Linked DNA regions of Homo sapiens: all the other regions are linked to region 2. The links are contacts of gene promoters, found by promoter capture Hi-C in blood cells and fetal thymus (Javierre and others, 2016). All regions are on one chromosome and are shown on one strand. Each heading gives the region's core, a stretch centred on a gene start or on the middle of the fragment in contact. The rest is flanking DNA. Distances are from core to core; before and after follow the strand shown.

Evidence for each region. The method cuts DNA at HindIII sites, captures the fragments that hold promoters and counts their contacts. A CHiCAGO score of 5 or more calls a contact.
Region 1: a contact is called between a fragment that was not itself captured here and the fragment with the promoter of SLC43A2 in region 2, in 1 of 17 cell types (endothelial precursors). The highest score is 8.0, in endothelial precursors.
Region 3: a contact is called between a fragment that was not itself captured here and the fragment with the promoter of SLC43A2 in region 2, in 2 of 17 cell types (endothelial precursors and erythroblasts). The highest score is 7.8, in endothelial precursors.

What each region holds. Positions count from the first base shown.
Region 1 is chr17:1,266,711-1,271,220 of GRCh38, forward strand. BHLHA9 (basic helix-loop-helix family member a9) reads left to right here and starts at 3,734. Exons shown (of 1, transcript NM_001164405.2): 1 at 3,734-4,510. The coding sequence starts at 3,854. RefSeq lists enhancers at 925-1,728, 1,729-2,531, 4,136-4,510 and a silencer at 1,590-1,819. The HindIII fragment of the contact is 2,719 bases long and covers 865-3,583 here.
Region 2 is chr17:1,626,401-1,630,491 of GRCh38, forward strand. It overlaps SLC43A2 (solute carrier family 43 member 2), which reads right to left and starts at 2,434. Exons shown (of 14, transcript NM_152346.3): 1 at 2,394-2,434; 2 at 1,315-1,520. The coding sequence starts at 1,474. RefSeq lists enhancers at 607-1,144, 1,145-1,682. The HindIII fragment of the contact is 5,783 bases long and covers 266-4,091 here.
Region 3 is chr17:1,249,878-1,254,051 of GRCh38, forward strand. No RefSeq gene overlaps it. Among named protein-coding and RNA genes, the nearest start is that of BHLHA9, 18 kb to the right of the region's middle. The HindIII fragment of the contact is 4,133 bases long and covers 633-4,174 here.

The DNA.
Region 1 (4,510 bases), core at 974-3,473, 360 kb before region 2:
TAAGAATTATAGGAAACTGGGCAGCTAGACCCACGGCCAAGCCAGGAACCTCCTCTAGATGCCAGTGTAGGACGTGGAGGGCCACAGGCCCCGCACTGGCACCGTGATTTCTCCACTGTTACCTGTTTGTTTCTTTGGGACACCACTCCAGATTCAAGTCAGGCAGCCAAGTGCCTGGACTCGCATCTGTCCCAGTTACCAGAAATCTCTGCCACCCAGAGCCCCACCATGGAGGCTCCCTTCTCCCCAGATAGGAAGGCTGTTCAAATGCCACATAGCAAACAGTGATAACAAAAACATCCACCACGGCACACGCCTGTAGTCCCAGCTACTCAGGAGGCTGAGGCAGGAGAATCGCTTAAACCCGGGAGGTGGAGGTTGCAGTGAGCCGAGATTTCGCCACTGCACTCCAGCCTGGGAGACAGAACGAGACTCCACCTCAAAAAAAAAAAAAAAATAACCGAAGTCGTGGGTGCCCTGGGTCTGAGGTGACCATATGCCACTGGCTTTCTTGTCCCCATGTCCATGGCTGGACCTTTGTAGAGAGAGTCTCTGAACTAAGGCTTCTGCTCTTAAAGGAGAATATGGAGACGACACCCCTTTTTGTCATCTGCTTTATCCCATTGGCACCCCCACATGTCAATTCTATTTTCCAAACAGGTGTTGACTCCGTGCCCTTCTCTCACCACTGCCTGCATAGCTCAGGCCCCCCCTTCCTCCAGGATCCTTGCTTCCTAAGTGGAATTTGTCTTAACATCCATTCTCCACACTGCTCAAAGAGCTCTAGCTGTAATTCAAATACGGCTGACATTCCTCTGCTTAATAACCTTTTGCAGTACCCAGCTGCCTACAGGGCGAAAAGCAAGCTTTTGGGACGACGCCTGGTGATCTCCAGCCTTATCTCCCGTCACTCCCTGGCCTCACATTTGGTGGTTTGGCAAAGTCACTTTCCTGTATTTTTCGCATCATCCTGTGACCGCTTACACTTCCAGGGCCTGGCACCTGCTGTTCCCTCTACCTCCTGTCTGCTTGGCAAACTGCTATTCATCCTTTGAAATCCAGTTCAGGGCCGGGAGCGGTGGCTCACGTCTGTAATCCCAGCACTTTGGGTGGCCGAGGCGGGCGGATCACTTAAGGCCGGGAGTTCGAGACCATCCTGGCCAACATGGTGAAACCCCGTCTCTGGTAAAAATACAAAAAATAGCTGGGCACGATGGTGGGTGCCTGTAATCCCACGTACTCGGGAGGCTGAGGCAGGAGAATCGCTTGAACCCGAGAGGTGGAGCTTGCAGTGAGCCAAGATTGCGACACTGCGGTCCAGCCTGGGCGACAGAGCGAGACTCGGTCTCAAAAAAAAAAAAGTTTTTGTTGAATGAGCGCATGAAGGGGCAGAGGCTGCAATTGCGCCCCTACGTCTTCCACACCGGGCGTGTGGGTTGAAACGCCAGGGTCTCGCCTGGGAGAGAAGGAGGCTCAGGGCTTCCCGGGACCCGCTCTCCGGAGGGGGTGGGGTCGAGGCCCCCGTGAGCGGCTCCCGGACTTTCTCTCCCGGGCGGGCGTTCCGTCCTCCCTCGGGGAGCGGCGCCGGAACTTCCGGAGGAAGAGCCGGAACTTTTGAAGCCCAGGCCCCGCCCGGCGCTAATAGGCACCTACGCGGCCGCCGGCGGAACCGCCAGACCCTAAATCACGGCGCCCCGCCCGCCCCCGCCCGCCCCCGCCCGGGCCGAGAACTCGCGCTCCCGGGCACGGGCAGGTGCCGCGGAAATGCCGGGCCCGCCGCTCGCTTTGAAGTCGGCCGCGCCCCGCAGCGCCCGGGAGTCCCGGGTTCCAGGAGGGGGCGCCTCTCCCGGGTCCTCGGGGTTCTTCGCGTGGGGCCGTTTCCTGACGTGCGCGGGGAAGGGCGGGAGCGGCCGGGAAACGCCACCGGGAAACGCGCGCTGCGTGGGCATTTTCTTTGCTTTTACTGACCTTTTTTTTTTTTCTGGTTTATTTTTTGTTGTTTTTGAGACGGAGTCTCGCTCTGTCCGCCAGGCTGGAGCGCAGTGGCGGGATCTCGGCTCACTGCAACCTCCGCCTCCCTGGTTCAAGCGATTCTCTGCCTCAGCCTCCCGAGTAGCTGGGACTACAGGCTCCCCGCCACCACGTCCAGCTAATTGTTGTATTTTAGTAGAGACGGGGTTTCACCGTGTTGGCCAGGCTGGTCTTGAACTCCTGACCTCAAGTGATCCGCCCACCTCGGCCTCCCAAAGTACTGGGATTACAGGCGTGAGCCACTGCGCCCGGCCTCTAGCTGTTTTATAATTCGACATATATTGCAGATTTGGGGGACATAGAACCTGGGAAATACAGATGTCCTTAGGATGCTTTCATCCTAGTGGGCAAGGCAGACAATCACAGAAGTAAATACATACACTCTGCTTCCTAATGCCTTATTATTTTCTTTTATGGAGAAATTCACAGTTTGAAATAATGGGGTTATTGGCAATGCTCTTTTGGCGAGATGGATGTGAACCACACACCCATTCCAATGCCATAGGCCTTGGCATCTTAGAGGCATTTGGATTGTGACTGGGAATGAGTGGCCTTCAGGCGCTCCAAATAACTCAGCTGTGGATGCCGGAAATTCTACTGGGGGTCTTTCTTTGGGAATAAACATCATCTTTTTTCTGAGACCCTCTTTCAAATGCAAATCCCTGGGGGAAGAGGACAGAGGCTGCTCATTGAGTTCATAACCTGGCAGGGCTGTGTCACAAGATGGGGCTGCCCGAGGGCTCTGGACCCCAAAGATGCCCCTGATGTGGACCCAGGGCTGCAAAGGGATCTTCCCCGTCACCCTCTGCTGCTGACTCATCCCAGCTCTGCCTGCAGAAGGGGAGTCAAAGGGCAGTGGAGGGAGAGTCAGGCCCAACCAAAACCCGAACCCCAATTGCAGCCAGCCGCCCTCCATAGCTGAAAAAGCCGGAAGCTCTGGGTCAGCTTTACCTGCAGGGCCCTGCGCCTCCCATATGAGTCCTGCCGGGACACTCATGCTTTTCCTCAGTGACATCTCTGTGGTTGCCCACGGGACTTGACAAGAACTTTCAAGGTTTTGTTGTTGTTTTTGTTGTTGTTTTTCTGAGACGGAGTCTCGTTCTGTCTCCCAGGCTAGAGTGCAGTGGTGCGATCTCGGCTCACTGCAACCTCCAGCTCCTGGGCTCAAGCCATTCTCCTGCCTCAGCCTCCCGAGTAACTGGGATTACAGGCGCCTGCCACCACGCCCGGCTAATTTTTGTGTTTTTAGTAGACGGGGTTTTATATACTCTGTTGGCCAGGCTGGTCTCGAACTCCTGAACTCAAGTGATCCGCCCGCCTCGGCCTCCCAAACTGCTGGGATGACAGGCGTGAGCCCCAGTGCCCGGCCCTCTGCCTCTTTTTATTCCTATCAGCTCTCCTGCTAGAAGCCAAACTTAGCACCTTATCTGGGAATGGGGAGGAAGAATGTGGAACCCAGACACCCCACAGCGGCCCCAGAGCTAGGCAGGGCAAGGTCCCCGGGGCAGCGTGGCCGGGCTGCCCGTCTGGTCCCCGCTTACAAGAACCTGCAAGCTTCCCTCCTTGCTTTCCTTCTTCCCCTCGGTTCCTCCCCCGCCGACCTACCTGGAGGCCGATAATAAAGCAGGAGGAGGGAGATGGATGGACGGGAGGGCGGGGCGCCGCGTGGTGCCATAAAGCCCAGCTGGAAGGGGCCTGTCTCGGGAGTGTCCAGCCCCAGGAGCCGGGGACCGTCCGCGTCGCGAGCCGGGCCAAGGCAGTGGGCAGAGGGCAGAGGGCAGAGGGCCGGGGCTGGGGCAGAGGGCGAGTGCCCGGGAAGGCCATGCTGCGGGGCGCGCCAGGACTAGGCCTCACGGCGCGGAAGGGGGCCGAGGACTCTGCGGAGGACTTGGGGGGCCCCTGCCCCGAGCCCGGGGGCGATTCGGGGGTGCTGGGGGCGAACGGCGCTTCCTGCAGCCGGGGCGAGGCGGAGGAGCCGGCGGGCAGGAGGCGCGCGCGGCCGGTGCGGTCCAAGGCGCGGCGCATGGCCGCCAACGTGCGGGAGCGCAAGCGCATCCTAGACTACAACGAGGCCTTCAACGCGCTGCGCCGGGCGCTGCGGCACGACCTGGGCGGCAAGAGGCTCTCCAAGATCGCCACGCTGCGCAGGGCCATCCACCGCATCGCCGCGCTCTCCCTGGTCCTGCGCGCCAGCCCCGCGCCCCGCGGGCCCTGCGGACACCTGGAGTGCCACGGCCCGGCCGCGCGCGGGGACACCGGGGACACAGGCGCCAGCCCCCCGCCGCCTGCAGGGCCCAGCCTCGCGCGCCCAGACGCCGCCCGCCCCTCGGTGCCGTCCGCGCCCCGCTGCGCCTCGTGCCCCCCGCACGCGCCCCTGGCACGGCCCAGTGCGGTGGCCGAGGGGCCGGGCCTAGCACAGGCCTCCGGGGGAAGCTGGCGCCGCTGTCCGGGGGCTTCCTCTGCCGGGCCGCCTCCCTGG
Region 2 (4,091 bases), core at 1,184-3,683:
GCTGATGTGGGGAAAGACCTGCCAAGAACCCTTAGGCTATTAGGAAATATTTTTGAGTGGCTAAAGGCTAAAGGTTAGTTATAAATGATATACTTTCTGTCCTCTCCCCGCGGCCTCTGCATTCTCCTGCTTTCTCCTGCCCTGAACCTCTCCAGCTAAGCCTCCCTCCCTAGAGACTGGGACACACAGGAATCTCCGGGGCAGATCAGAGAAGGGAAACAGGGAGGCTTCCACAAAGGATTACACCCAGCATGAGCTGGTCCAAAGCTTTCTCTTCCTGCAAAGAGCTCTAGAAAGAAAAGGCCTGCTGCTGGGGATTCAGGAAGTCAAACCTGGGCTACCTCCATCTAAGGGCACTCTAGCACTGGCGACAGGGATTATGTGAGCTCAGCTATTATGCAGCTACCGTTGGGATCAAGGAGAAGGCAGAGGGAAAATTTCCTGTCAAGGTTGCCTAAGAAGGAGGGTAGGAGGCTAGAGGCTGGGGGCTGCTGTGGCCCTCCTGTGGGGCTGAATTTACTGCCCTGTAGTCATCAGGACCCTCCAACAGGGTATGAAGGTGTGAAGGTAAGTGTGTGTTGGGTGGTGCAGATGTCATGTAGAGAAGCATCCTCAGCCTGCCTTCAGCAATTCCAGTGACAAGGCAAAGAGGAGAGAACAACCCTAGCATCATTTCCATAAACGTTCCTTTCTTCTCTTCCCCTTCATCCCCATGGGGTTGGAAAGCCACGGAGATGTCCTCAGAGCCCGTGGGGGAAATGTCCTTTGGAGAATCATAAGGCAGCAAAAATAGACAAGAAATTGTGTCCAGCAAGCACTTAGGAGACTCCACAATGGCCTGAGGAACGTCTAGATTCTAGATGAGCCCTCCCTGGGGTGGAGGCAAGGCCACTTCCTCTCCTGCTGCACCCCAGCCCCTTAATCTGGAGTTCCTCTTTCTCACAAGCAGACAGCAACATGTTTACTACCAGCCAAGCTATGTTCCAGGGCTGGGAGGAGAGGAGAGCAGTCCAGCACTGTTCGTAGCGGGTGGAAGGAACACCCTGGACAGCAGGTGGGGTTCTGGGTGGATGGCAGGCCCAGGCTCTGCGGCCTTGCGCAAGACAGATCGCTCTGAGCCTCGATGTCTTCGTCCACAAAACAGGGGCAATGACAAGTACCCGGCAGGGCTGGGTGAGGATCAGATGGGCCTTCTGATACCCTAGAGGCACTGGGCAATGCGGTGCTGTGGCTCGCTAGGTCTTCGCCCCCATCCCGCCCCCTCCCAAAGCCCCAGCTCCAGGAGCCCCCCGCAACCCCAGGCGCTTGTCTCACCTGGCTCGGTACACAGGTAGGAGTAAAAGCCCTCTGACTTGAGCATGATGAGCAGCGAGCCCCAGCCCAGGAGGACTGCCGAGAAGAGGAGGTTCTCCAGCACGGCCGTGCAGGCCATCCACCAGCGGCGCCGATGGGCAGTGGCCAGGGTGGGCGCCATGGTGCGGCGCGGCGCGGCTCCGGCTCCGGCTCCGGCTCTGCACCACCTGCGCACAGAACTCGGCGTCAGCGGCCGGCCCTTGCCCAGCCCCTGCGGCCGCCCCCAGCAGCCCCGACCGCTGCCGCAGGGCTCGGGATTGCCACCCCTCCCCGGCCGCGGCGGCCGGTGCGCGCAGCAGAGGAAGCGAACCCCAGCCCTGCCCGGACCTGGGACACCCCGAGCCCGCGGCCGGCTCGTACCGCTGCCCTCCGCTACGACAGAGCCGCCCCGGCCAGGCAGGGAGACGTCTCCCGCAGCTCACTCCGAGGTAAACTGAGGCATGGAGGCAAGAAGGGGCTAACGCATGCTCAGGGCCGTGGAACTAGTCCTGGCCTGCAGCAGGACTGACATCGCCTGGGGCCAGCATGGAACGCAGCGTGAGGTGGGCAGGGGCAGATCCGAGGGCTGCCTCTCCCAGGGACCCTGACAGGTGCCCTCCCGCCCGCGCCCGAGACCCTTCCCCAGAGCTGGTTTCTTCAACCACAAGATCAGCGCCCAGACCTACGGAACGGCCCGCCCCGGCGCGCTCATTGGCCGGACGGCGCAGGAACTGCCGCGCCATTGGCCGCCGTCTAGGTCGCTAGGCGCTGCGGCCACGCGAACCCAGCGTGGGAGACGAGGAGCCGGTTCAAACCGGTGGCGCGAGCCAGCCGCGCGACCCCCATCTCGGGCGTTCCCCCGGCAACTCGCCCGTTTCCATGGCCTCGGACCCCCGCGCCTCCATTCCCCAGCCCGCATCTGTTCGTCATCTCTTCCCTGGCGGCCCCTCATCGCTCCATCTCTCTCCTCGTTCCCACGTTTTCTCCCTACGCCCCTTCGGCGGCCGCTTCTGCCCCCGCGCCCTCGCCCCGGCCGCGATCCCCTCCCTGCTGCAGCTCACCCGGCTCCTCCGGCGTGTGTCGGGCCCGCCCGGCGCCTTTTCTGCCCTCTTTTATTCCAGCCCTTTTATTCCGACCCCAAGAAGAAAACACTGCCGCCCGCTGATTGGCTGAGCGGGGCTGGAAACAGGCGTCGACCAATCAGCAGCCAGCCCCCCGCCCGCCCCGCCGCGAGCAGAAGCCGGTTCCGGCCGGACTCGGAGACAAACAAGAGAGATGGGGGACGGGAGGGGCCTGGGCGCTGCGGGCCGGGCCTCGGCTTTGCAGCCTTCAACCCGAGTCACAGCGCGGCCGGGAATCCCCGGCGACATCGCCCCGCGGCCTCTCCAGCGGCCTGACCCTGCGAGGCTGGGGCTCCGGCTCCGCGTCCCGGCCCCCAGCGGACTCCCCCCAGAAGCCGCCGGGCCACCAGCGCCCCCAGCCGGGCTCTCCCGCGGCCGCCCCGCCGTCCCCAGCTGCCCCCTGCGCGCGGGTCACCACGCCCAGATGCGCCGGCTCCGCACGGTGGTTCCACTCTCGAATCCCCACCCCGCCTCCTCCCCACGCAGCGCCGCCGTCCCCGCCGCCTCGGGCTTTGGGTCCTGGTTCCTCGCTCCCCCGCCCCGGTGGTTCCCGTCCCGGCGTATTCGGGGCCTGGGATCCCGGACCCGGTCCAGCCGTGGCGCCCCCCGCTGATGCACCGACCCCTTCCCCTCTCCCCGGTGGCGTCTGCCCGGTCCCTGGAAGTTGGCCCTTGGAAATCTGCAAGGGGATTTGGGGCTGGTCTGTCCCGTCCTAGGATGGGGTCTCCTGAGCTCCCCCCATCAGACTGACCTTTCTCCGCCCGTGTTCACGCACTGCTCGGTCCTCCGGGGACCCTCCACCCTTGATCGTCATCTGGGTGCTCCCTGCCCGCGCTGGCCACCTTCACCCCGTTCCCCGTCCCTTTCAGGGAAGGTCCCCTCTGCAGGGCGATGCTACGGGCCACGTCCGCCAGCTGGTACAAGCTAGGGAGGGTTCGAGGGGGCTCCGGGTCCCCGTCTGATAAGCCCGGGCTCCGAAAGCTCAGCTCCCCGTCTTCGTCCCCCGGATTCGAGGCACTAACCCGACCCGGGAAGACCCTCTGACTGCCCCAGAATCGCCTTGGTCACCCTGGCTCGCTCCGGGGGGCTGGCTTAGCACCCCAGGGCTGCCGCGCGGTGTCCACGTCTGGAATCCCAGCGGTTTGGGAGGCTAAGGTCGGAGGGCCACTTGGGGACAGGAGTTTGAGACCAGCCTGGGCAGCATGGCGAGAACCATCTCTACCAAAATAAAAACCAAAAATAAAACCCCACCACCACCCCAGGGCTGTGGGAGCCCCAAACGCCTCTTGCTCCACCTGCCCCAGTCCGAGTGTGCCCCCTACTGTCTAGAATCCGCCCGGGCCACCTGGCGAGGGCAACCTCCCCCAGACAACGCTTGGAGCTGTCAGCCTGCTGGGGGGCGGCTCCAGCTGGTAGCCTACCCGGTTCCTCACCCTGTGGAACCCTTCCCACTCCCAAGGTTTCAACTGCCATCTGAAAAATCTCTTTCTTCACCCTTCCCTCCTCTTTGAGCAGCCTGACGGCGCTGCAGGGCTCAAACATGCCTCAAATATCCCCCAGAACTGTCCTCCACATTTTCTCTCAGATAACCATACTACTACTGTCTACTGAAGTTAGATACCAAGAACCCTGTCTTTT
Region 3 (4,174 bases), core at 1,449-3,948, 380 kb before region 2:
TCGATCTCCTGACTTCGTGATCTACCTGCCTCGGCCTCCCAAAGTGCTGGGATTACAGGCGTGAGCCCCCGCGCCCGGCCCCTAGTGCAGTGGTTTTAATTGTGTTCATGGGGACCCTTGCTGGGGACTGTGGAGGGAAGATCATGGGGACCCTTGCTGGGGACTGTGGAGGGAAGATCATGGGGACCCTTGCTGGGGGCTGTGGAGGGAAGATCATGGGGACCCTTGCTGGGGGCTGTGGAGGGAAGATCATGGGGACCCTTGCTGGGGGCTGTGGAGGGAAGATCATGGGGACCCTTGCTGGGGGCTGTGGAGGGAAGATCATGGGGACCCTTGCTGGGGGCTGTGGAGGGAAGATCATGGGGACCCTTGCTGGGGGCTGTGGAGGGAAGATCATGGGGACCCTTGCTGGGTGCTGTGGAGGGAAGATCATGGGGACCCTTGCTGGGGGCTGTGGAGGGGAAGAAAAGTCACGTGAACGACAGACGGAATTCCATTCCCTCCAGTGCACACAGCTGCCGCTGCAGCAATTATGTGCTTAAAAAATAACAAAACATGTAGTTGGAGTAGATTTTCAATAACATGAAATTACAAAAATTAAATTTTTGGTTTTTGTTGTTACTGGAGTAAAAAGCTTTAATGCCTTTTCTTGTATTTATTTCTTGCTCTAGCCTTTTTCAGAGACCAAAATTTGCGTGTGGAATCACTTCCCAAACATGTATTCTGCCATCAGAGATCCAGAGCAATGAATCTAAGTTGCTTCAGGCTATCATGATAACCCTTTCTCTCATCCCCAAAGCTCATCGATAAAATTTGACATTTGCTCATCAGAAAACAATTCCCGATTCTGCGCTTCTTATCTGTGCTGTTCTCCCCCACAGGCAGAGGGTTGTACATCTTTGATTACTCCTAGAGTGGAGTAAATGGGATTGTTAAGCATAAGGATGAAGGCAAGATGGGGAGGCGGAGCATCAGATCCACACTCAGGTTTTGCAAAATCAAAACAAACAAACAATTCCCCAATAACAACAGAAGCCTCTAACTCTTTTTTTTTTTTTTTTTTTAAGACAGGGTCTCGCTCTGTCTCCCAGGCTGGGTGCAGTGGCGCCATCTCGGCTCACTGCAAGCTCCGCCTTCCAGGTTCACCCCATTCTCCTGCCTCCGCCTCCCGAGTAGCTGGGACTACAGGCGTCCGCCACCACGCCGGGCTAATTTTTTGTATATTTAGTAGACACAGAGTTTCACTGTGTTAGCCAGGATGGTCTCGATCTCCTGACCTCGTGATCCAGCTGTCTCGGCCTCCCAAAGTGCTGGGATTACAGGTGTGAGTCACCACGCCTGGCCAGAAGCCCCTAACTCTTTTAGAACAACGTGCTATTTATTAATAGGCTATTTTCTCATCTCCCCTTCTGGGAAAGCTCACTCAGAAAAACCCTTAACACACAACCAGAAAGCCTCTGGTTACAAGTGACCTTTGCAAAGTGTCCTGTTTTCAAAGGAAGGGGCTTCAAAATAAGAGAAGATGGAAGACATCTGAATTGGAACTCACCCCCGCACCCCAACCCTGGGGAAGAGGGTGGGGATCAAGATCACTGCCGGCCAGGCACCATGGCTCACGCCTGTAATCCCAGCACTTTGGGAGGCCGAGACAGGTGGATCACGAGGTCAAGAGTTCGAGACCAGCCTGGCCAACATGTTGAAACCCCATCTCTACTAGAAATACAAAAATTAGCCGGGAGTGGGTGCACGCTGTAGTCCCAGCTACTCGGGAGGCTGAGGCACGAGAATCACTTGAACCCGGGAGGCGGAGGTTGCAGTGAGCTGAGATCTCGCTGTTGCACTCCAGCCTGGGCGACAGAGCAAGACTCAAAAAAAAAAAAGAGAGAGAGAGAATATTAGCCTCTCCTTGTTCCTCCAAAAGGCAGAAACTAAACCCCCAGAGGCAAATCTACCAAGGCTGACCCACTCCCCACCACACTGCCCTGCTCCAACCCCACCGCCCCTCAACCATCCTCCCTACCTTCCAGGGGAATTAGGAACGGAGCAGAACTCCATGGCAGCCAGTCTTGGTTACCCACTGATTTAATCTCTGATTCCCGCCGTGAGGAGAAAGAATATGAATTACTATAAACCCATCTGTTCCCTTTCTTTCTAAAAAGACAAGGACCCGGGGCTGGGTAATAATACTGTTGGCATTACGGGAGGTCTCTAGCTCACTGGTGTCTCCCTCCCCCCTTCCCCCAACAGCGCATAATTTGAAGATTTTCTTTAAAAAAAAAAATGACTTTAACGCCCCCAACTAATGTTTTCCTAACAGTAATAATTATAAATTCCAAACAAAAACTTAGCGGCGTGTGTGTGTGTGTGTGTCTCTTCCAGGCTTTTCATTTCAATAGATCTGCTAATTAAAAGCTATAATTTAACAAATAATGACCTAACCATCTCACTTTGAAATCAAACAAAAACCTACCACTAAAATGTGGGACTAGATACAGATAATGAATCCGGGTGCAATTCACACTCCTGCTGGGCCCAGGCTGGCCCCCTTCCAGCAACGGGCCTACGCCTGTGATTAGCAGAAATAGCTTTTCCAGCCATTTGGAGCAAACAGGGAGGATAAGTGAGCAATTTATGAGTCTAACAGTCGTTTTGGACCCACGCCCACTGCTGAAGGAGCAGGATGGAGCATTTATCCCTCCCCTGCCCTCGTTCATTGACACTTGGTCAATTTCATTTTCTCCCCGGCCCTCTTTGGCCCCTGGGGGAGAGAGTTATTTCTTTTTTTTCTTTTTTTTGAGATGGAGTCTCGCTCTGTCGCCCAGGCTGGAGTGCAGTGGTGCAATCTCCGCTCACTGCAAGCTCCGCCTCCCGGGTTCAAGCCATTCTCCTGCCTCAGCCTCCCGAGTAGCTGGAACTACAGGGGCCCGTCACCACCCCTGGCTAATTTTTTGTATTTTTAGTAGAGACGGGATTTCACCGTGTTAGCCAGGATGGTCTCAATCTCCTGACCTCGTGATCTGCCCACTTTGGCCTCCCAAAGTGCTGGGATTACAGGCGTGAGCCACCGCGCCCGGCCCCTAAAGTTATTTCTTAATAACAAGCCGGAAGGATTTGTGAAAAGGAAAACTAGTAATGAAACCAGGTGAAGATGCCCACTGAATCCAGCATCCTAAATGTTTAATAAAATAATAAACGATGGGCTGGGTGCAGTGGCTCACGCCTGTAATCCCAGCACTTTGGGAGGCTGAGATAGAAGGATCACCTGAGGTTGGGAGTTTGAGACCAGCCTGGCCAACATGGTGAAATGCCGTCTCTACTAAAAATACAAAAATTAGGCTGGCATGTTGGAGGGCGCCTGTAATCCCAGATACTCGGGAGGCTGAGGCAGGAGAATGGCTATTTTTTTTTTTTTTTTTTTTTTTTTGAGATGGAATCTCACTCTGTCGCCCAGGCTGGAGTGCAATGGTGCAATCTCGGCTCACTGCAACCTCCGCCTCCCAGGTTCAAGCGATTCTCCTGCCTCAGCCTCCCGAGTAGCTGGGACTACAGGCGCCCCCCACCAAGCCTGGCTAATTTTTTGAATTTTTAGTAGAGACGGGGTTTCAGCGTGTTGGTCAGACTGGTCTCGAACCCCTGACCTCGTGATCCGCCCGCCTCGGCCTCCCAAAGTGCTGGGATTACAGGCTTGAGCCAGCGCGCCCGGCCGAGAATCGCTTGAACCCGGGAGGCGGAGGTTGCAGTGAGCCGAGATCGTGCCATTGCACTCTAGCCTGGCGACAGAGCAAGACTCTGTCTCAAAAAAAATTTTTTTAATGTAAAAAATAATGCAATGATAAAAAACAATGAAAGCAAGATTGTTTCCCACCTACCACGCCCCTTCCCTGAGCTGGGAATTGGGCACCTGTGCCAGGTTAAACATAGCCCGCTGTTCTGGAACCTTCCCCGCAGCCCCAGCTCACACCAGTCCGCTGAGAGGCTGCCCAGCTGCTGTACAGGAAATGCTCACGCTCCGTGGGAGGAGCCTTCAAACACTCACCCCTTCCTGGAGTCCCGGCGGGACGGGAGAACTGGGGACTCTGCGAAAGCGCTGCGGAGCGTCCAAGAGCTCCCCGTGGAGCTGAGGCAGGAAGACCGCGCACTGGCTGAGACCCCAGGAGCCCAAAGCTGGACCTGG